Linked DNA regions of Homo sapiens: regions 1, 2, 4, 5, 6 and 7 are each linked to region 3. Evidence: promoter capture Hi-C in 16 types of primary human blood cells and fetal thymus (Javierre and others, 2016). All regions are on one chromosome and are shown on one strand. Each heading gives the region's core, a stretch centred on a gene start or on the middle of the fragment in contact. The rest is flanking DNA. Distances are from core to core; before and after follow the strand shown. Region 1 holds the start of EEF2K (eukaryotic elongation factor 2 kinase). Region 2 overlaps POLR3E (RNA polymerase III subunit E). Region 3 holds the start of IGSF6 (immunoglobulin superfamily member 6). Region 4 holds the start of POLR3E (RNA polymerase III subunit E). Region 5 has its middle 7.4 kb from the start of CDR2-DT. Region 6 overlaps CDR2 (cerebellar degeneration related protein 2). Region 7 has its middle 29 kb from the start of LINC02890.

Region 1 (2,948 bases), core at 121-2,620, 550 kb after region 3:
ACAAAAATGACAGAGGCTCAGAGAAGTAAAATAACTTGCCCAAGGGCCATAGAGCTTTAAGCAGTAGCGTCTTTTTTTTTTTTCCAATCTTGCTTTGGGCTTGGACAGACTAGTTCAGCATCTTTGATCTTCCCTTCCTGCCTGACGGCCCCAGGGTCAGAATTCCAGGTGCAATTTTGTCTTGCCAAAAGCTGGAGTTTACTCTCTTTGGGGTTTATAAATAAGGAAAAAAGTTCTTTGGAGAGCCTGAACTTTGAAATCAGAGAAGTCTGGATTTACTGCTGGCTCTGCCTTTTCTAGCTGCCTCACCTGGGGCATGTCATTATCTCTATAAGCCTCAGTTTTGTTCTTTTTTCTTTTTTATTTTTTTGTTTTTGTTTTTTTGCGACGGAGTCTCATTCCTTCACCCAGGCTGGAGTGTAGTGGCGCGATCTCGGCTCACTGCAACCTCTGCCTCCAGGGTTCAAGCGATTCTCGTGCCTCAGCCTCCAGAGTAGCTGGGACTACAGGCGCGCCCGGCTGCTTTTTTGTATTTTTACTAAAGACAGGGTTTTACCGTTTTGGCCAGGCTGGTCTCGAACTCCTGACCTCAGGTGATCTGCCGGCCTCGGCCTCCCAAAGTGCTGGGAAGATGGAATGAGAGAAATCCCTCAAAACATGTCATTGTTACTACTTTTCTATCTAGAATGTGTGAAATTTCTAAAATTTCACTAACAAAGTATCTGGAAGGACCTAATATTAAAGTGTTCACAGTAGCTATTAGTTTTAATTCGTTTTCTTTTTTATACCTTAGCCACTCTACCACTCATGCCACAGGTATTTATTAAGCATCTACTGTGTGCCACCCAGGCCCTGTGTCAAGAGTTAGGAATAACTAAAGGAGATACTAATTTTAAAACTACACAAATAATTGCAATCGTCATACGTGCCTGTTTTTACAAAGCAGAAATCAGGAAAAACAAAGTATTTCCGATAAAAAATATTTTAAGGTTATGGATAGAGATACATACAAACAAGCGATGGGCTTGGATCACTAATGATTTTGGAAAGGACAGGAATACAGGAACTAAGCGAGAAGCAGGCGAGAATGGCGAGGCGCGGCGGGAGAGGACGGAAGTTGGTCACTCCCTCGAATTGCCCCCTCGCTGCCGGATGCTAGGCCAGCCTTGAGCAGGAGAACCGGACACTGTGTACTCAGCAGGGGGAGCCAAGACTTAGCGCTAACCATTGCACCTGGGGCTGGGAGCCAGCGCCGGAGCCAGGAGGCCCGCTAGGCGGCTGCAGGCGCTGTGATGGCCACCTGGGGGCGGCCACGTGAGCGCCACGCCGTGCGCCCGCCAGGCCAGCCCCGCCCCTGCCCGCCCGCTTCTGCTCAACCTAGACCAGCCCCAGCTTCAGCCTCAGCTCCCCTCCTTCCTGGATCGAGCGCCCGCACTCCCGGCCCTGCAGCCACCCGAGTCCCGCTCGCTGTCGCCTGCACGCGAGTCCCCCCTGGCACGCGCTCCCACATCCCGGGATCGTCCCAACGGCCCCTGCGCCCTTCCTGGGATCACTCCGACTGCCCCGCGCGCCCTGGGATCGGTCCATCTACCCCGCGTGGCCCCAGCTGCTTGCCCGGAGCGCCAGCTAGCGCTCCCCGCTCTCCGCTCCCCGGCACTCTCGGGGGGCCCGCCCGCCCTGCACCCTGGAGCTCCGGGCCGCGAGCCTCTGCCAACTCCTCTGGACCCTCGCGGCCGTGGGCAGCGGCTGCCGCGCCTGTCTGCCCGAGGGAGGTAGGTGTGGACCGCGGCCGGCAAGGCTGTGGGGGGCTGGGAGCCCGCGCTGCAGGCCTGTGCGCCCGGGTGCAGCTGGCGTCTGGAGCGTGCTGGGTCTGGGCTTGGGAATGGGGCCGGAGAAGGCATGGAAGGAGAGTGTGGGGGCGCTTCTCCTCTGGTTGTTAAACTCTCTGGGGCTAAGTGCTTGCTTTGGAGAAATGGGGAAGTTGTGCGGATTAAAGGCGATGTGGATATGGAAAGCAATTGGCAAGCAATGGGCGGTGATCTGGCTGCAAGTGACAGAGAGTTTGGGGGCCTCCCCCCTCGGGGCCCCTAGAGTGTGGGCGCATCGCTGCCTTCCTGTCCCCTGCAGGGCTCAGAGCCGCATCCCCCACCTTTCCCCTGAACTAGAGGCCTGCGTCAGCCCGAATTCCCGGAACCTCCAGGACTGTATAGACGCGCCCTTGCTGCATTGTTGGCTGCGGGAGTTTGTTGGCAGGCGCTGCTGACATGTGTGCCAAGGGGCTGGGCATTAATAAGCCGGTGGCCGCGCGGGGGTGGGGGCCTCCCGGGTAAGCCCCGGCCTAGATCCTTTTGCGCGCGCCTGGGGGATTTCGGGGAACCAGCCCAGCTGCGCCCTGAGTGTGACAGATGGGCCGCATGGGGAAGTGAGATCTGCCCAGGGGGACGGTCCCAGGGAGCCCGACCTCTGGGACCTCGGTGGTGGGTGCTTCTTCAGCCAGGAAAGCAGGAAACACTAGGGCTGGAGTCCTGGGTTGGAATTCTAGCTCATTTATGCTCTCTGGCCCTCGGTTTTCTCATCGGTAAAATGGGTACAGTATTAGTATCTACCACTTAGTATCCTTGGAAAGAGTAGATGAGTATGTATATGTCAGGTGCTTGGAACAGTGCCTGGCACACAGTGTCATAGTCTATGGCCCCGGGAGACATCTGATGGCCAAGAGCCCTGTGGTTGAGGGCCCTGGACAGGCTGTGAAGTCACAGCGAATTGAGTCACGTAGTCTATCCTAATGTTTTTAGCGAGGAGGAAACCGAGGGTCAGAGTGATCCCCAGGCCCACAGAAGCTCCCTAAGAGGAAGCCAGTCACATAAACAGATTCTAAAAAGCGAGATGGAGTAAATGGGAATACAGAGCAAGCAGGTGGGAGCTGAGAATGCCCACTGTGTGTGTAA
Region 2 (3,131 bases), core at 27-2,526, 680 kb after region 3:
AGACTGCAACACAAAGTCAGGTGCATGGCTTGGGTGTCTTGTTTGGGGATGTTTCTCTTTTTAGATCACTGTTTCCCATCATAACGTGTTTTTGCTACTAAAGCATCGACAGGTTTTGCTTGAAATTTTTTCCAAAAATTACCGGGTACGCCGAAACATGATCCAGTCTCGGTTGACTCAAGAGTGTGGAGAAGATCTCAGTAAACAGGAGGTGGATAAAGTACTAAAGGTACATCCATTTTGTGCATAACAAACAATATCAAAGGCTCTGGAAGGGGCTGACAGTGTGTAGAAGGGACTCTAGTGTCTTTGTGTATATGAAATCAGGCTTCCTTGGGACCACTCCCCAGTCAGTCTTGTCTTGAGCAACTGTTAATGATTGATTGATTGGCATTGGTTGGGGAAGGGGGTATGTGCCAGAGGACTGACCCCTTCAAACAATATAGTCACAGTGGTGTCCAAGGGAAAGAATACAGCCATGGATGCTTTGTTTCTCTTTCTGGTTGGGCCAGGCCAGTAATGCCCCTTTCATCCCTCTTCTCTGCTTGTCACTAGAGACAGAAACTAAAAACCATGGCTTCAGGCTGCTAAGAGCCTAAAACAATAGAACAACAAAAAAATATGGTAGGTTGGATGAGCTTGGCAGTGGGTAGGCGTCTTCTAAAATGATAGGGCCTAGTTGAGAATCCTCACTCTACTCTCCCTTGAATTTTGAACTATCTTCTGATTGTTGCCATAGCCACACACATGACTTTCAGTAGAATCCATTCTTAAATTTAGTTTAAAAAGGAATATGATCTGTTTACTATATGAAAGCACCTAATGTACAACCTATAATGCTTTTCTGAAGTGACTGTAGTACAAATACCAACCATATTTGCAGCAACACTGAGAGACAGAAAACTGATGACAATGTCTTGTTTTGATTAAACATCCAGAGCCATATAAGTAATACTGTTTTTTAAGCACCCTTGTTCTGGGCATGTCAGTATCTGTATTTCGTAGACCCCCTTTTTTTTTTTTTTTTTTTTTTTTGAGATGGAGTTTTGCTCTTGTTGCCCAGGCTAGAGTGCAGTAGCACAATCTCGGCTCACCGCAACCTCTACCTCCCAGTTTCAAGCAATTCTCCTGCCTCAGCCTCCTAAGTAGCTGGGATTACAGGTGTGAGCCACCATGCCTGGCCCACCCTCACTTTTAAAATGCCCCTGAGGAATGGCCAGGCGCGGTGGCTCACACCTGTAATCCCAGCGCTTTGGGAGGCTGAGGTGGGTGGGTCACTTGAGGTCAGGAGTTTGAGACCAGCCTGACCAACATGGAGAAACCCCATCTCTACTAAAAATACAAAATTAGCCAGGCGTAGTGGTACATGCCTGTAATCCCAGCTACTTGGGAGGCTGAGGCAGGAGAATCGCTTGAACCTGGGAGGCAGAGGCTGCAGTGAGCCAAGATCATGCCGTTGCACTCCAGCCTGGGTAACAAGAGCAAAACTCTGTTTCAAAAAAAAAAAAAAACACTACCCCTGAGGAAAGGGTGGCTGGTAGTAGCCATGGTGGTATGGTTAGGCAGTTTTTGATTTCCCATTTGTATTCTATTCACTAATCATAAATCGAGTGTTGACATTGTGGACAGAATGTAATTAGCTCCTTTTCCTGCAAAAATCTGTGCTTACCCTGTTTCTCTCTCATAGGACTGCTGTGTAAGCTATGGTGGCATGTGGTACCTTAAAGGGACAGTACAGTCTTGACAATAGTAGCAAACTACTAACCCAGCAAATCTAAGCCCAAGGAAGAAGGGCGGAACCAGAAGTAGGGCCTCGACTTGCTTCAGACGACACAGAGCAAGAGGAACTGACCATCTCATGACCTGTGGCATTGCACGGTGCAGTGGACAGAAGGGATTATCCTCAGCCAGTCGCAGGGTCAGCTTAAGTTAGTTAGATCACTCCCAGAAGAGACCAGCTGGGACCTTCTTTGCAGTACAATTTGAAATTCCTGATGTATTTTGCTTATTATTTGGTTTCATTCTCATAATAAAGAGAGTGTATACTGACATGGGCAGGATGATAAAAATCATGGTTTAATATTTTCTTTTGTAAACTTAATGCCAACAAGGTCTAAGTTATGTTTACAACATGAAGAAAACCTCAAAGTTCTTAATTTTTAAAATGCCTAGAAGACAATATTTAGTCTTGGATTATCTATCTGCTAAGACCTCCACCAATTTCATTAAACCAAATTGAATTATTCTATTCTTGGGATTCTGTGGCCACTTCACCTTTGACAACAACCTACTTTATGTAGCAGTCTCAACTGTTTACATGAACCATAGCAAAAAAATCAGAATCAAATCCATCTCCTTTTAATGTTTGCAGAAAGATGCAAACAAAACCAGGTAAGTATGGAACAATGTGTAAGTGAGGTTATCACACTTTGATGTAAAAATTTCTATTTTGTGTATTTTTAAAATAAATGCAAACACTAAACTAGCATCATGGTGCTATCTTCAAATGGTTACAGGAAGGCGATCTTGTTGGGCTCAGCGTTACGTGTATCTAGAGGGAACGGAGCTAATGGAGGAAGACAGAGCAGCACTGTCCACTAGAAAGAGGCGAGTCACGTACATAATTTTGAAAGTTTCTAGCAACCACATTAGTTTAAAAAGGTCATGTTAGCATATTATTTAGCTCAAAATATCTAAAACATCAACATAAGGTAAAAGTCTTCAAAATCTGGCATTTTACACTTTCCTCAACACTCAGTTTGGACTAGCCACATCATAAGTGCTCCGATGCCACATGGGGCTATTTGCGACAGTATTGGATAGCACAGCCCTAGAAACTGATGGAAAAAATAAGAGTAAGCTAGGTTGGATGACATGTGAATTTTGGTATCTAGATAAGGCTTTCGCCATCTTTTTTGTACAACACAGTCACTAATTGTCTGAAGGTTTAAATGACGGTCTATGCTATTTCCCCACTCCCCCCAAAATAAAACATCTAATATTTTAGCTATAGAATCACTAAGGCATTGATCAAGGATGTACTTTGCCAAATAAGTATTTGGTAACATCACTTAACAAGTTGATCGTGTATTGATTCTGTTAACATATGTGAACCTGAAAAGTAAAGTTAC
Region 3 (2,888 bases), core at 27-2,526:
TTGCCCAGGCTGGAGTGCAGTGGCACAATCACAGCTCCCTATAGCCTGAAAGTCCTGGGCTCAAGTGATCCTCCTGCCTCAGCCTCCCAGGTGGGTGGGACTGCAGGTGCAGTGCAGGTGCCATCACGCCCAGCTATTTTTTTTTCTTGTGTAGAAATGGGGGTCTCATTATGTTGTTCATGCTGGTCTTGAACTCCTGAGCTCAAGTGATCCTCTCACCTTGGCCCCCAAAGTGCTGGGATTACAGGCATGAACCACCACGCCCAGCCCAAAGCTTTATTATATTAGATTTCAAATTTCTAACATATCAAAGTAGCGAAGTAGTACAGTCAACCCCCTGCCATCACATGGCTTCGACCCAATCTTGTTTCTTTTCTCCTCCCACCTACTCCCTCACTCCCATATTATTTTAGAGCAAATCCCAGCCATTTTATCTGCATCTTTCAGAATATATCTCTAAAAGACAGGAATTCTTCTTTAAAATAATGCTAATTAAAATAGTCTATGAAAGTAATATATACTTATTAGCAAAAAACAGGTTATTAAAAGTAGAAGCAAAAAGTCACCCATAGTCCTTTTGCCTGAAATAACTCCCATTAACATTTTGATATATTTCTTCACAGATGAGAAAAAATTAAGAACTTTCCCCCCTTCCCTGCCCTATAATCCAAATTGTGTGGGCAAATCTGAGATTACTAGATGTATTGGAAATCCTTTCTCTTTCATAGATAAAAAAACAGAAGTAGACAGAATTTTAAAAATAGATATACTATGGGATGGCTATTGGAGTCATGGCAGTTTTTTTTTTCTTAAATGAAAAGTACTTTTATAGAAATTGTTCTTTGAAAATATTCAGCAAATAATCATTTATTGCTTTCTATGTGCAGATCAAGTTTGTATGATAATTAAATTATTGATAACTTATACCTACGATTTTAAGAATATTTTCAACCCTTTGGTCAGATTGTCTCCAATTAGCATAATAGCAAAGAGACTTTTCAAGGTTAATATGAAACTTTTTCTCAGCTATTTTTTTATTGTCTATTTCTCAGGGGAAAAAGGAAACTTATCCTCTTAGGCAGTTTTCATAATGTTATACATTTAAAAATTAATCTGAAGGAGCTTAAAATATAAATGCATTAGGTGAAAAATAGCAGTTGATTTAAATAAAATGAAGGAGGAGAAGAAAAAGAACCTTACCGACACAAAATAGAATGAGATTGGTTTGCAGATGGCGAGCGATGTTGCTTCTGCTCGCAGTCCCCATTTCTGTGTATGCCGGGGCGGGTTGGGGTGTGTATTTGAAAGGAAAGTTGGCTTTCTTTTTTCAGAAGGGAAGAAGAGCTGAAGAGAGGAACCTCTTATGAAGGAACCATAATCAGGAACTTTTTGAAATTGTGCAAGGATGGCTTCACCATTTAACATTGAGATTTTGGCCTGGAGCACATTTAGAAATGTGCATATCTTTTTTTTTTCCATGGATTTTACAGTTGTCATAGGTGTTAGATGTTTCTGGGTGAGATTTTGATTTACACCTAGCACATATTTCCAGGAAGGAGTATTGTTTGACAAATAATTCGTACTTGGATTTTTCAGAACAGTTCAGTCACTGTCTAGGGTACCTGCTCTGGGTGCCACTCTGGGCCAGTAACTGCTGGGAACAAAGAACAGCAGAAGGAGAAGTGGCTTTGTGTAGAGATGAGAAAAGTTAGTAAACAACACATTCTAATGCAGCGAATAAATAAATTGTCTGTTATTAACTTTTTGTACTCCAGTTTTGAATCCAAAGACACCTGCCTTCCCCCCTTTTTTGACAGGGTCTCTATCACCCAGGCTGGAATGCAGTGGCAAGATTGCAGGTCATTGCAGCCTCAGCTTCCTGAGTAGCTGGGACTACAGGCATGCACCACCACCCCTGGCTAATTTTTTTTTTTTTTTGTAGATTCTGTGTTGTCTAGGCTAGTCCTGCCCTCAAGCGATCCCCCTGCCTTGGCCTCCCAAAGTGTTAGGATTACAGGTGTGAGCCACCATGCCTGGCCCAAAGACCCCCTTTTAATGTGTTGAGAAACAAATATGTGGGCCCTCTGTCCTCTGTGTCCTCTCCCCCAGCACTTAGTGGTGATTCAGTAAGGGTCTTCTTTGTAAAGCAGCAGAAACAGACTCAGGCTGACTTAAAAGGAAATTTATGCAAACATTTGAAGGTAGATCCTAGAGTCACTGGGAGGGCTAGTGAATCTTGTGTGGGGTCCACAGCCAGGAAGAATGCCTCAAATCACACCATAAACAGGTCTGAAGAGGATGCTACTGCCACTGCCAAACACTAGGTGCCATCAGCCCTGTTGTCAGCATCGCTCAACCACTGCCCCAGCCCCTTGGTCTCACTGCCATTGCTCCACCCCCAGAGAAGGAGAAGCTCACATCCCCACTACTCTGGGTCACTGGCTCTCCATTCCAGGGCATGGGCAAGTGTGCCTGGCTTAGGCTGCGTGCCAGTGCCTCAGCTGCACGGCAGGCCAGGAAAGCGGCTCCCAGGCCTTGTGTCTCTCCCAGACTCTGGGCAGGCAATTCCCCAGACATGGGAAGAGCGTCATCTGCACCACTGAAAATTATGAAAAATCTCCCCACCATGATATGATGTCTGTGCCCTTGGCATCTGCTCATGATATATTTTCTCATTAACAGAAAGTTATTCTCAGTCTGTTTTGTTTTTTTTTTTTTTTTTTTTTTTGAGACAGAGTCTCGCTCTGTCGCCCAGGCTGGAGTGCAGTGGCACGATCTTGGCTCGCTGCAAGCTCCGCCTCCCGGGTTCACACCATTCTCCTGCCTCAGCCTCCCAAGTAGCTGGGACTACAGGTGCATGTTGCCATGCCCAGCTAATTTTTTTGTAT
Region 4 (2,850 bases), core at 146-2,645, 640 kb after region 3:
TATGAATAATGTGACAATATTTGTGTTCAAATCCATACACAATAAAAACAAAGCTATCTTCTATGGCTATATCTATATATATCCATATAGATATAAACATATAAATTCACAGCAAAAGATCTAGAAAGATATATAGTGTTTTAGTCCATTTTCTGTTGCTTATAACAGAATACCTGAAACTGGGTAATTTGTAAAGAAAAGGAAGTTATTTCTTACAGTTATGGAGTCTGAGAAGTCCAAGGTCAAGAGTGTGCATCTGGTGAGGGCCTTCTTGCTGGTGGGGGACACCTGCAGAGTTCCCAGGCAGTACAAGCCATCATATGGAGGGGGTGCTGAGCTGCTCCCTTGCTAGCTAAGGTCTCTCTCCCTCTTCTTATAAAGCCATCAGTCCCCCTCCCAAGATAACCCATTAATCCATTAACCCATTAATCCATGAATCCATGAAGAGATTAATCCATTCATAAGGGCTCCACCCTCATGATCTAATCACCTCTTAAAGGGCCCACCACACAATACTGCCACATTGGGGATTAAATTTCCAACACATGAAATTTGGGGGACACATTCAAACCATAGTTCATATTAAACAGATAATAATGGTTAGTTACCTCGGCGGAGGGGCCTAGGATGCGAGTCAAGGTCAAAGAGCATTTGTACCTTATCTGCAAAGTTTAAATATTTTGCAATAATTCGCGTGTTATTTGTGTAAGTAAAAATTTAAACATAATTTTTCAGAGACAACTGCCCAGACCAGCTCCAGGGTTTGGCCGTCAGATCCCCTGGTGCATGTTTCTGATCAGATCAATTTCTTCTCCCGGAGACACCCAATCCGGGTCGTATGGATTACCTGTGGGTTAACCAGGGGTCTCCGGGTTAACCATCCAACTCAGAGTAAAGTTTCTAAAAATGCGTTTTGCTCTAATACCTATTCGGAACCAACCTGGGTCTAAAGACTGGAGCAAGTGTTTATTTTCCAAAACACGGCTTTTTAAAATAATTCTATAGGGATCACCTTGAACACACGTTAAGCAAAAAAAAAACCTCAGCGAAAACGCCTCGCAATGTCCAGATTAAATGCAAAAGCAAAAGCATTAAGTAGCTTTCTGGCATAAACATATTGCAGCTGGGTAGCGTGGCCGAGCGGTCTAAGGCGCTGGATTAAGGCTCCAGTCTCTTCGGGGGCGTGGGTTCGAATCCCACCGCTGCCAGGGTTGCTGTCTTTTTGTCCCCGCTGCATACACTCCTGGCTCAGTTTTGCGCGTGCCATCAGCGCCCCCTGCTGCAGGGCGGGGCTCACGGCCTGCATGAATGGCGCGGCGGAGGGGGCGGAGCCGCGTGCACCGGGGCGGGGCATTGTGGGTAAGAGGAAACGCTGGGGCCGGCCCGCTCCCCCCCACGTGTCCGCCGGAGTTTCTCCACCAGCAACATGGCCGCCGCCTGAGAGGAGAGCCGGGCCGCCGCCGTCTCTGCAGCCCGCGGGTAACTGGGCCGTTGCCGCCGTCCGCGCTCGGCCCCCGCGGAGAGGTGAGTCCCGTCTTGGCAGTGCCCGAGCTGGGGCTTGAGCCGGACCGCACTCACGACGTGGGCCTGGGCTAGATTCCCGAGTAGGCCAAGGAGGCCCGCGCCGCGCTGTGCCTAGCAGCTGGAGGCCTCTCGGGACTCGGGCGGGGAGGAGGGGCAGCCGGCTCCAGGCCGACCCCGGACTCTGACTTCCTTGACCTGACACCTGGGAGTTGGGGAGGCCGCGGCCGACGCTGGCGGCGGTGACTCAGGGTCCAGCCGACCTGCCCTATCCGGGCCTGGGAGGCCTCCTACGGAAGAAACACCTGTCCGCGCGTCGGGTGTAGTGGCGGCTCGCGGCAGGGACTGCGTGGTGGGCGTGAGAAGGGGGGCCTGACCACCCGCGAGGGAGCAGAAACCCATTGGACAGCGAGGCTCGGGATCGGCGGCCCGCCCCGATGGGCAGGGAGGGCACCTGCGCCTGCCGGAGCCCCCACTTCGCAGCTGAACCGGATTAGCCTCTGCCCGGCGAGGCCAGGGATTCCTCATTCATTTATTCAGGCAACCATTCAGTGTTTACCGAGCCAACTCTGTGTTCCGGATACAGCCCTGACCATTCGGTCCGAGGAGGTGTCAGTAAACAAACAAGGTCGTTCCTTTGGGTTAGCTTTAGAATTCCTTGGGCTTGGAGGCGGAAAGAAGAGATCTTAGCGATCTCCACAGTTTCCTCATCTGTGAAATAGAGATAATAGAAATTCCTACCTCATAGGGTTGTGGTGACGGCTCAGTAGAAACCGGGTGACGCTCCTGCTTGCAGCGTTTGACTTGTGGCTTAGCGTCATTACCCGCTTACGTTGGCAGAAAACATGTTGTCAAGTAATAACAAACCTTCCCAGAGGTTACGTTTATTAGCGTCCTGTCCTTACTCCTTCCCCGCAGGGGTCTGGAGGTCGGTACTTAGTTTCCCTACTTTAGGGATGAAAATAGGGAGGAATACCAAACCCAGACAACTCAGGTGGGTCACAGATGCCAAGCAGCTGTGGTGGGATTTGAACCTGCACAGTTTTGTTCTCGGGTCCAAGCTCTTACCCACTTAACCATACTGCCGTTTATCAGAAAACCGTGCAGTATAGTGGTTAAGAATAAGAATAAGGATCTTTGACATAGCGAGACCCAAGTTTCTGTCCTCATTCCACCTTGGATGAGTTGCTTATATCTGAACCTCAGTCTCGTCATTTCCAAATTGAAGATGATAAATCTCTATTGATAGGGCTAATGAGAAGATTAAATATAAAGTATTCTTTGTACTATATTGAGTGTCAACTTCGTGCCAGGCACTGTTCTAGGTAT
Region 5 (3,298 bases), core at 59-2,558, 730 kb after region 3:
GTCCCTAGGTTTTGGTAGGCTAAATTTGTGTCTTGGCTTTTGATTCTACTGTCTCCCTTGTTTTTGACTCTTTTAGTAACCAAGCAACCTCTAGCCTCAGTCTTCATTCTCAGGGATGAACTCCTTAGAGTGAAGTCTTCACTGGTAGTTCCCAGCATTTTGAAATCTGAGAATTGCTTTTAAAGTAAAAAATGTTGGCTGGCCTCCACACAATAGTAGTTTTGAAGTGTTTGGGAACTGCATCATGATGAAAACAATCAGATTTGTATTTTTAATCATTATAGCAGAAGCTACAAACATTTTAAGAATACAAGTACACATGTGGACAAAACATTCTTTATTCTATAGACAATGCTTGGTATGCATATGGGTTTGATAACCCATTTTTGATAATTCTAGGACCCTGCCACTCATAGAATTAGAGTCTTCTTTTTTTTTTTTTTTTAATTTGAGACAGGGTCTTGTTCTGTTGCCCAGGCTAAAGCGCAGTGGCGAGATCATAGCTCATTGCAGCCTCAAACTCCTGGGCTCAACCAATCCACCCGCCTCAGCCTCCTGAATAGCTAGGACTACTGATCTGCACCACCACACGTAGCTGAATTATAATCATTCTTGGGTCTACTTGGTGCAAAGTGAAGTGTAGAGACCTTAAATAATTTGGTCATTTGAGCCAAATGCCAACTTCCTCCTTCTGACTTGCCCTCTTTTTCCCTAAGAAATTTGGCAGTGTAGACCGAACTGTCTGCTTAATTCTGTTCCTGGATCTACAAAGTTAAAGCGAGGCCCAAGGATTACTCAAGCAAGTAACATCCTTTGAGTTATCTGAATCTGTGTCTGTTTTCTGACTGAATAAGATGCAGAGACCTGGCTAAATATTCAAGTAAGCCAAGAATAGAACAGAAAGATCATGGTATTCTCTTTAAACTATAGTCAAGATTGAAAGGAAGATGAATCTATGCCTTCCTCTTGCTTGGTTAGCCTTTTCCTGTTTTCTACTTATAAAAATCAAAGGGTAAGACAGACAATAGGCTAGATTTAAGATAGGCCCATACAAGGATCTCAGCAAGGATCAGAATGTGTTATTTCTGTACCCATTGTAGTGATGTCCTTGCTGTCAAAGCTACAGAAGATCAAGAATAAGTCTTCAAATGCAAGTCTGTACTACTGAATGAACAACTTTAAACTAAGATGAGGGACTTATTTTCTTTTTGACTTGAGCAAAAGGCTGTCACCTTGTTGTTCTGTTTCTGTTGTACCCTACCAAGTAAGGAGGATAATAATGGCATAAACATATCTCCTTGACACTAGTTAATCATGTCCAAGCTCTTGGATGAATCCCACTTTATTTTATATATTTTTTTGAGGTGGAGTCTTGCTCTGTCGCCCAGGCTGGACTGTAGTAGTGCCATCTCAGTTCACTGCAACCTCTGCTTCTGGCGTTCAAGCAATTCTCCTGCCTCAGCCTCCCAAGTAGCTGGGACTACAGGTGCATGCCACCACACCCAGGTAATTTTTGTATTTTTGTGGAGATGAGGTTTTGCCCTGTTGGCCAGGCTGAAATCCCACTTTATAAGTTCGAAGAGATAGACAAAAATATAAGTGGAGTCATACTCTATGCAAACTAGGTTTCCTGGCGAGCATCTCAAAAAATATTGAGTGAATAGATAAGGAAGTAAGGTGTTAAATCTGGTGACATACTCACAGCTCGTAGGTTTGAACTCTTATTTGGCTAAAATAAGTACTGGCCAGCCATGTTTTGCCCCCCCATCCACTACTGTGTGCAGTGAATTTTAACCTTTTTTTTTTTTTTTAAACAAAGGGAAGAAGAGTTCCTCTGCATGGAAAATGACACTTTTAAATATCAAACCCATTGCTTGGGCATACTCTATGATGACATTAGGGACTGAAATGCTGAATTCTGTCTTTGGTTTCTACTATGTGAAACTTTTTCTACATCTGTACAAGATTTCAGAAGTGGCCTTTTATCAAGCCCAGGTGAGATGGAATCTTTACTGTCCTTTCACATAGGACAGATCTCCTTCCTTTGAGGGAAAGAGAGATTTTTATTTTTTATTTTACTTTATTTTCTTTTATTTATTTTTTTTGAGACGGAGTCTCACTCTGTTGCCCAGGCTGGAGTGCAGTGGCACGATCTCGGCTCACTGCAAGCTCCGCCTCCTGGGTTCACGCCATCCTTCTGCCTCAGCCTCTCGAGTAGCTGGGACTACAGGCACCCGCCACCACACCCGGCTAATTTTTTGTATTTTTTAGTACAGACAGGGTTTCACTGTGTTAGCCAGGATAGTCTCAATCTCCTGACCTCGTGATCCACCCGCCTCGGCCTCCCAAAGTGCTGGGATTACAGGCGTGAGCCACCGCGCCTGGCCTTTTATTTTATTTTTTGAGACAGAGTTTTGCTCTGTCACCCAGGCTGGAGTGCAGTGCACAATCTCGGTTCACTGCAACCTCCACCTCCCCAATTCAAGTGATTCGCCTGCCTCGGCCTCCCCAATAGCTGCGATTACAGGCCCATGCCACTACGCCCGGCGAATTGTTGTATTTTTAATAGAGACAGGGTTTTGCCATGTTGGCCAGGCTGGTCTCAAACCCATGACTTCAGGTGATCTACCCACTTTGGCCTCCCAAAGTGCTGGGATTACAGGTGTGAGCCATCGCGCCCAGCCGGAAAGAGAGATTTTTAAAAGATTGCTAGTTAAAATGTAAAGGCATTAGAATTTAAAGAATAAGCTTAGGTTGTCTGGAAAATTAATTTATATGGAAAAATCAGTATTATTACTAAGATATCCAGTCTCTGTCCCTCTCTTTTTTTTTTTTTTTTTTCTGAGACTGCTCTGTTGCCCAGGCTGGTATGCAGTGGTGCAATCATAGCTCACTGCAGGCTTGACCTCCCTAGGATCAAGCAATCCTCCTGGCTCAGCTTCCTGAGTAGGATGACAGGTGTGAGCCACCACACCTGGCTATTTTTTTTTTTTTTTTTTTTTAGAAATAGGGGTCTCACTATGTTGTCCAGGCTGGTCTCGAACTCCTGGGCTCAAGCAATCCTCCTGCCTCAGCCTCCCAAACTGTTGGGATTACAGGCATGAGCCACTGTGCCCAGTCCTAAAATATTCTGTTTTGAAAAGGCCCACAGTATTCACAAATTGTGTTGTAACTCATTACCAATTAGGTGGCAGGCTGGAAGAGTTCATGGTTTTAAAACCCTTATATTTTATAATGTTACTCATTTATTACCAGTAATAACATACTAATTAGATTTAATTTGAAATGCCAAACATTG
Region 6 (3,028 bases), core at 339-2,838, 710 kb after region 3:
TTCATTTTAGTTTGTTAAGCTGGGCAAAAGGTATTATATTATTATTATTTTTTTATTGAGACAAGGTCTCGCTCCCATCACCTAACCTGGAGTACAGTGGCACGGTCTTGGCTCACTGTAGCCTTGACTTCCCAGGTTCAGGTGATTCTTCCACCTCTGTCTCCCAAGTAAGCTGGGACTACAGGCACACGCCACCACACCAGCCTAATTTTTGTATTTTTTTTTGTAGAGATGGGGTTTTACCACGTTGCCCAGGCTGGTCTCGAATTCCTGAGCTTGGGCAATCTGTCTCCCTCGGCATCCTAAAGTGCTGAGATTATAGGCATAAGCCACCACACTCAGCCAAAAATGTAGCATTTTAATAAAATATCCAGCAAAAATGTAAACAAATCAAGATCACAGCAGAGAGAAAGCAACATGTATTTTATGATTATTTGAATGGAGCAAAACATCTGAACACACTGTGAAATCAGGAACTATGATTTTTTTTTTTCAAATTTAGGATATGGTTTGGTAGTAGGTGGGAGGGATATGTCACCAAGGAGGAGGTATAAGTTCCCTCTCCGGTGGGAAGTTCAAGAGTGTGGGCAGTCTTCTTTTTTAAGCTAGGTGGTGGATATATGGGTATTCACTGTATTGTTCTCTTACCCCATTCTGTATATCTTAAATATTGCATGTTTTAGGCCGGGTGTGGTGGCCCATGCCTGTAATCCCAGCACTTTGGGAGGCCAAGGCAGGTGGATCATCTGAGGACAGGAGTTCGAGACCAGCCTGGCTAACACAGTGAAACCCCATCTCTACCAAAAATACAAAAATTAGCCAGGCGTGGTGGCAGGCGCCTGTAATCCCAGCTACTCGGGAGGCGGTTCTCATTCTCAAAAAAGTTTGTGTTAAAAAATAAAATGCTGCATCTAATTGCAAGTGCTTTTTTACCAGTATGTGATTGGCATAACAGCAACACATCGAAGTGTCAAAAGTGTAACTCTCCTGCCAAGTGAATTACCTCAATTTCCTGTAACTGCTCCTGATTGGTTGTATACATCTGCTGAACAGAGTCCTCCAACTCTGTGTTCCGATCCAGTAATGTCTTCCCAAGCTCAGCAGCAAGTTGAAGATCTAGCACAACAAATGAATCTTAGAATAATACAAATGATCTCACATCAACAATTTATATAACCCAGTCCTTCAAAAAAGAACATGTAGTTTAAGTCACATCCCAATGGAAGGTGGAGTGGCACAGAAGGAAACCCGAGTTCTACTTAAAATTCAGTTAAACTGACGCCTCCAGCAGGTAATGTATTCTCTTATGTACCCATACTTGTAAGAAGTGAAAAATGGTCATCTACTTTATGGAGATGCAGTTATTTGTTCAGGAATGATCATTCCGCAGTGTTACTTCTAAAATCCTATTTGCTAGTACAATGAATGTATTCATATCCTGACAGTCTACTTTTTTGAATGGACCCTTGAGCCAAGGTATAGGTGGAGCTTTCAAAAATCTTTAAAGTTCCCATGAATTTGCCTGCTGTGAATACAACTGTTAAAGTTTATTGTCATATATCCTGGACTCCTAAGGGGACTAAAATTTATTAAGTCAAGAAAAGGAAAAATACATCAGCATTAAGAACACTGCCCCAGGTCACTCTACTTCTCTTCGTGTCCTTCTGTAAGATGAGCAACTAGAAAAGCAAAACAGAAATGTGGTTTTTGAGGTAATTACATGTCAGTAGCTCATACTTCCATTTAGCACAGAACCATATTTTATTTTAAACCTCATTTTTCAACTCTCTCTATTCTTAGGTATAATGCCCATAAAACAGGATTTGTTTATATTATACTCAACTCCCAGAAATGAAAATTTAGTTAACAATATAAGAAAGGACACTAGTTGTAACATACGTCATTGAAATACTTCTTTGCATAGTAAATCTTATGGAGCAGTCCTTTGATACAGTGGGAAATGCACTGCACTCTGGGCAGGTAAGTCTCAGGCCCAGTTCTATCATTTACCAGAACACTTTCAATATGGTGACTTTAAGGCCCCTATAGTTAGTATTCTTGTTTAGAGAGATGACTGTCTTATCAATATAAGATTGTGAAAATCAAATGAAATAATACATAAAGGAGTACTTTACAAACTAAGTTGCAATACGCACGCAAAGTACTATTAATAGTCATTGATTCACAAATGAATGTTTTTGTTGCCAGGCACTATGCTAAGCATTAGCTATAGAACAGTGAATAAAATGAAGTCCTGCTTTGCTGACATTCCCAGATTAGTGGAGGAAGCCAGACAAATGAGTAACTAAACTCACATACTGTGATAAACAGTATTCATGCATGCATGCATATACTCAATAATATCAGACACTATTCTAGGCACTGGGATGGTGCCCAGGAGCCATAAGGAACTCACATTAAAAAAATATCCCTGCCCTCATGGAGCTTATATTCTACTGGGAGAAACAGCACAATAAAACTTGATAGCGATAAATGCTAAAGAGAAAAAAATAAAGCAAGGAAGAAGTACAGGAGGAGTGTGGATGTGGGAGGCTGAAATTTAAGAACATGTGACCAGGGCCACATTAGAATCAATGTGTGAAGGAACAGAATAAGTGACCCATGTGTATCCATCAGGGAAACAGCACTCCAGGCAGAGGCAAGGCAAGTGCAAAGCACCTGGGAGGAAGCATGACTGAGTCATTAAGGAGGCTGAGGAGGGTGGAGCAGAATGTATTGGGCAGGGAGGGGAGGGGGAAGACTCAAATCAGAGGGGCTCCAAGATGGCCAGTTTGCGGAGGGCCTAACTAAAGAGGTCAAGAGTTTGGCCTTTACTCCAAATGAAGGAATCCAATGGAGGTTTAACAGGATCACTCCGGCTGCTGTTATACAGGGTGAATGGGACAAAGGTGGGAGCAGAGTGACAGAAAGATACTGCAATCGTCTGGGTGAGAGATGATGGTGGCTTGGACCAGGGTGGCAGAGATGAAGATGGGAGAGGAGGGGCAGAATTCTGACATGTTTTGAA
Region 7 (3,061 bases), core at 218-2,717, 990 kb after region 3:
GGAGGCTGGCTGAATTTTCTTTCTGGACATATCCTCTTGAGTGCCTTGCAGTCATCTCAAATTCAGCATGTCTAGAAATGAATTCATCACCCTTACTCATCAAACCTACCCCTCCTTCAGTTTTCCCTATCTCAAAATGACACCATTGTCCTTAAAAGGTTAAATCAGCTTCCATGCTAACTTCTCTACCTTCATATGCTTGTTGGCTGCCTGTATGTCTCTGGCCTCATGCAGTCTCTCACCAGGTTTTGTTGCACTTACCAAAAACATGCCTAGATACCATCCATTTCATTTCCAATGGTTTAGCCACTGGAAATGGCCAGCTTTCATCTGGACAATTGCAAAGGACTGCAATTTACTTCCTCCTTGTTCTCTTATTTCTTCCCACACAGCCATTAGAATTATCTTTAAGAATGCAAATAGATCCAGTCACTCCTTTGCTTAGATCATTTAATGGCTTTCCCCTGCCTTCAGGATAAATATGGACTCCCTGAGATGACCTGTCAGGCCCAATATGATCCAGTATCTTTGCTTTATCTTACATCACTCTCTTCCTTGTTCTATAGTTCTTTCTCTTATTCAAAGCTGACATACTCTATCCTGACTCAGGGCCTTTTCTCACATTATTCCTTCTGCCTGGAATGATTCGTCTGTCCCCCCTACCATCCAGCTAACAACTGCTTCATTTCTTAGCTCAGATATCACTTACTCCAGGAGACCCCATGCTGGTTTAGATCTACCATGATATGTTTCTGGTGTACTCTGTACATCTTCCCAATAGCCATACTCTGTACATCTTCTCAATAGCCAGTTAACTTACTCAAAGTTTGTTTTCCCTTGTAGACTTTGTTTCATGAGGGCAGAACCTGCATCTTTCTTGTTCACCATTGTATCATCAAGAGCAATGTTTGGCACATAGCCGGTGCTTAGCAAGTATTTGTTAAATAAATAAGCAGAAGTCCAAGGACCCAGACTCGTTGGAGACTGAGATAAATACCCTAAGACACTTCATGTTTGTCCACAAGCCTGAAGTGACCTCAGAGAGGGAACGGTTACAAGTTTAAAACAGCTGCAAAGTGCAGAGAAAAGGCCAGCAGATGTTCTGACTGTTAGATGTTCCCGGTGGGTTGTGTGCTGTGTCATATGGGACTGCCAGCCAGGGCCTGCCATGTCGGGAGACCTTGGGGGAAGGAGCAGATCTCAAGCTATAGCAGATGGTAAGTGCTGTCTTTAGTCTTTAACATTTAAGGAAAAGAACTGGGAATAGACGTTCGGCTCAGTAGCAGTTATGATGCATTTAAATAAGCCTTGCAAATCATTTACAGAATGCATATGCCTCCAAAATTCTTCATTGCTCATAGATTTTGTGGGAGCTTCCTCTGGTCCATCTTTGTATCCTCAATGTACAGTAGTGTCTGTGGCATGGGGCGAACCTTCAGTGTGGGTGGGCTACCCACTGAAGGAAGGCACATACTTGAGACATATTGGCATTTGGCCGGCTGTGGGTAATTGATCATCTTCCCCAGGAGAGTCACGCCCCCTAAATGCAGAGACTGTGCCTTGTGCCTTTTTGTACTCCCTCTCCCACTTTACTCAGTTTCTTGTTCCCCTCCAGCTAATATCAGGGCAGGTGGGTGGGACACTACTCGCCCTATCTTAGTTCAGGTTGCTGTAACACAAATACCATAGATTGTGTGGCTTAAATAGCAGAAATTTCTTTCTTACAGTTCTGAGTCTGGGAAGTCCAAGATCAAGGTTCTAGATGATTTGATTTGGAGAGAGTTTTCTTCCTGGTTTGCACAGACACCTTCTTGCTGTATCTTCACATGACAGAAAGAGAGAGAGATGGGGGTGGAGTGAGGGATGAGAGAGAGAGAGAGAGAGAGAGAAAGAGAGAGAAAGGAGAGTGAACTCAAGAGTGCTCCATCTCATCTTAGAAAGGTACTAATGCTGGCCAGGCATGGTGGCTCATGCCTGTAATCCCAGAACTTTCGGAGGCTGAGGTGGGTGGATCACCTGAGGTTGGGAGTTCAAGACCAGCCTGATCAACATGGAGAAACCCTATCTCTACTAAAAATACAAAATTAGCCAGGCGTGGTGGCACACTTCTGTAATCCCAGCCACTCAGGAGGCTGAGGCAGGAGAATCGCTTGAATCTGGGAGGCAGAGGTTGCAGTGAGCCGAGATCGTGCCATTGCACTCTAGCCTGAGCAGCAAGAGTGAAACTCTGTCTCAAAATAAATAAATAAATAAACAAATAAATAAATATATAGGTACTAATCCCATCAAGAGGGCTCCACCCTCATGACCTAATTACCTCCCAGAAGCTCATCTCCAAATACAATCACATAGGGCATTAGGGTTTCAACGTATGAATTTTGGGGTGACACAAACATTCAGCCCATAGCATGCTCTATCATATTTTCCTGGAGAACCGTGGTTTTGGAACAAGGGAAGTAGGGCTTGGATATTTCAATTAGCTTCCATTTGAAAATGGGAATGAGAATACCTGCTTCATAGGATTATTGTAAAGATTAAATGAAATTGCATATTTAAAATGCCTCAGCCTATGCCCGACTCATGATAAGTAGTTAGAAAATTATGGAATTGAAGAGACAGTATGCCATGCCATTATGGTCATGGGCCTTGCAGCCATAGAGTCCTGGGCTTCATTATGGGCCCTGCCACTAGTAAGTGAACTTGACAAGTTATTTAACTTTTCTGAGCCTCAGTGTCCTCATGGGGAAAAACAGGGCTAAAAATCTGTCTAGCTCATGGAGTGGGTGTAGGATTAAATGCAATATACATATAAAATGCCTTGCCATATAGTAAATGCTCAATAAAAAGATAGTAATTGTTATTACCATCGTTATTATTGAACAGCAAGTGATAAATTGGGATATCCTGACTGTCCTAAATTGTGTCAGAAATGTGGGATCTGGTTCATATTTATAGAGACTTCTTGTTCTTTCAATTGTTCAACCTAAAAAGCTTAGAGTTGTCGTTAAATCTTCCATTTTTCTCACTTTCCACAACCTGTCCATTGGATATTCTTGTTGAT

What was found. The method cuts DNA at HindIII sites, captures the fragments that hold promoters and counts their contacts. A CHiCAGO score of 5 or more calls a contact.
Region 1: a contact is called between the fragment with the promoter of EEF2K here and the fragment with the promoter of IGSF6 in region 3, in 6 of 17 cell types (total CD8 T cells, neutrophils, fetal thymus and 3 more). The highest score is 8.7, in total CD8 T cells.
Region 2: a contact is called between a fragment that was not itself captured here and the fragment with the promoter of IGSF6 in region 3, in 1 of 17 cell types (total CD8 T cells). The highest score is 6.3, in total CD8 T cells.
Region 4: a contact is called between the fragment with the promoter of POLR3E here and the fragment with the promoter of IGSF6 in region 3, in 1 of 17 cell types (total CD8 T cells). The highest score is 5.2, in total CD8 T cells.
Region 5: a fragment that was not itself captured here is called in contact with the fragment with the promoter of IGSF6 in region 3 in 1 of 17 cell types (neutrophils); the score reaches 6.8 in neutrophils.
Region 6: a contact is called between a fragment that was not itself captured here and the fragment with the promoter of IGSF6 in region 3, in 1 of 17 cell types (neutrophils). The highest score is 8.8, in neutrophils.
Region 7: a fragment that was not itself captured here is called in contact with the fragment with the promoter of IGSF6 in region 3 in 1 of 17 cell types (erythroblasts); the score reaches 6.0 in erythroblasts.

The regions. Positions count from the first base shown.
Region 1 is chr16:22,204,908-22,207,855 of GRCh38, forward strand. It overlaps EEF2K (eukaryotic elongation factor 2 kinase), which reads left to right and starts at 1,371. Exons shown (of 18, transcript NM_013302.5): 1 at 1,371-1,772. RefSeq lists silencers at 1,142-1,441, 1,602-1,871. The HindIII fragment of the contact is 13,136 bases long and covers 1-2,948 here.
Region 2 is chr16:22,331,957-22,335,087 of GRCh38, forward strand. It overlaps POLR3E (RNA polymerase III subunit E), which reads left to right. Exons shown (of 21, transcript NM_018119.4): 20 at 104-229; 21 at 1,688-3,131. The coding sequence ends at 1,744. LOC124903664 (a long non-coding RNA gene) reads right to left here. Exons shown (of 2, transcript XR_007065026.1): 2 at 1,954-3,131. Among named protein-coding and RNA genes, the nearest start is that of POLR3E, 36 kb to the left of the region's middle. The HindIII fragment of the contact is 7,227 bases long and covers 1-3,131 here.
Region 3 is chr16:21,651,332-21,654,219 of GRCh38, forward strand. It overlaps IGSF6 (immunoglobulin superfamily member 6), which reads right to left and starts at 1,277. Exons shown (of 6, transcript NM_005849.4): 1 at 1,201-1,277. The coding sequence starts at 1,267. The region is part of intron 4 of METTL9 (methyltransferase 9, His-X-His N1(pi)-histidine); the gene reads left to right. The HindIII fragment of the contact is 3,735 bases long and covers 273-2,888 here.
Region 4 is chr16:22,296,014-22,298,863 of GRCh38, forward strand. POLR3E (RNA polymerase III subunit E) reads left to right here and starts at 1,396. Exons shown (of 21, transcript NM_018119.4): 1 at 1,396-1,524. TRL-AAG2-4 (tRNA-Leu (anticodon AAG) 2-4) reads left to right here and starts at 1,127; the gene lies at 1,127-1,208. RefSeq lists silencers at 1,017-1,466, 2,477-2,616 and enhancers at 1,140-1,684, 2,127-2,266. The HindIII fragment of the contact is 19,375 bases long and covers 1-2,850 here.
Region 5 is chr16:22,380,591-22,383,888 of GRCh38, forward strand. No RefSeq gene overlaps it. Among named protein-coding and RNA genes, the nearest start is that of CDR2-DT, 7.4 kb to the left of the region's middle. The HindIII fragment of the contact is 2,875 bases long and covers 1-2,746 here.
Region 6 is chr16:22,363,899-22,366,926 of GRCh38, forward strand. CDR2 (cerebellar degeneration related protein 2) reads right to left here. Exons shown (of 5, transcript NM_001802.2): 2 at 1,004-1,116. Among named protein-coding and RNA genes, the nearest start is that of CDR2, 9.2 kb to the right of the region's middle. The HindIII fragment of the contact is 3,798 bases long and covers 1-3,028 here.
Region 7 is chr16:22,641,410-22,644,470 of GRCh38, forward strand. No RefSeq gene overlaps it. Among named protein-coding and RNA genes, the nearest start is that of LINC02890, 29 kb to the left of the region's middle. The HindIII fragment of the contact is 3,044 bases long and covers 1-2,989 here.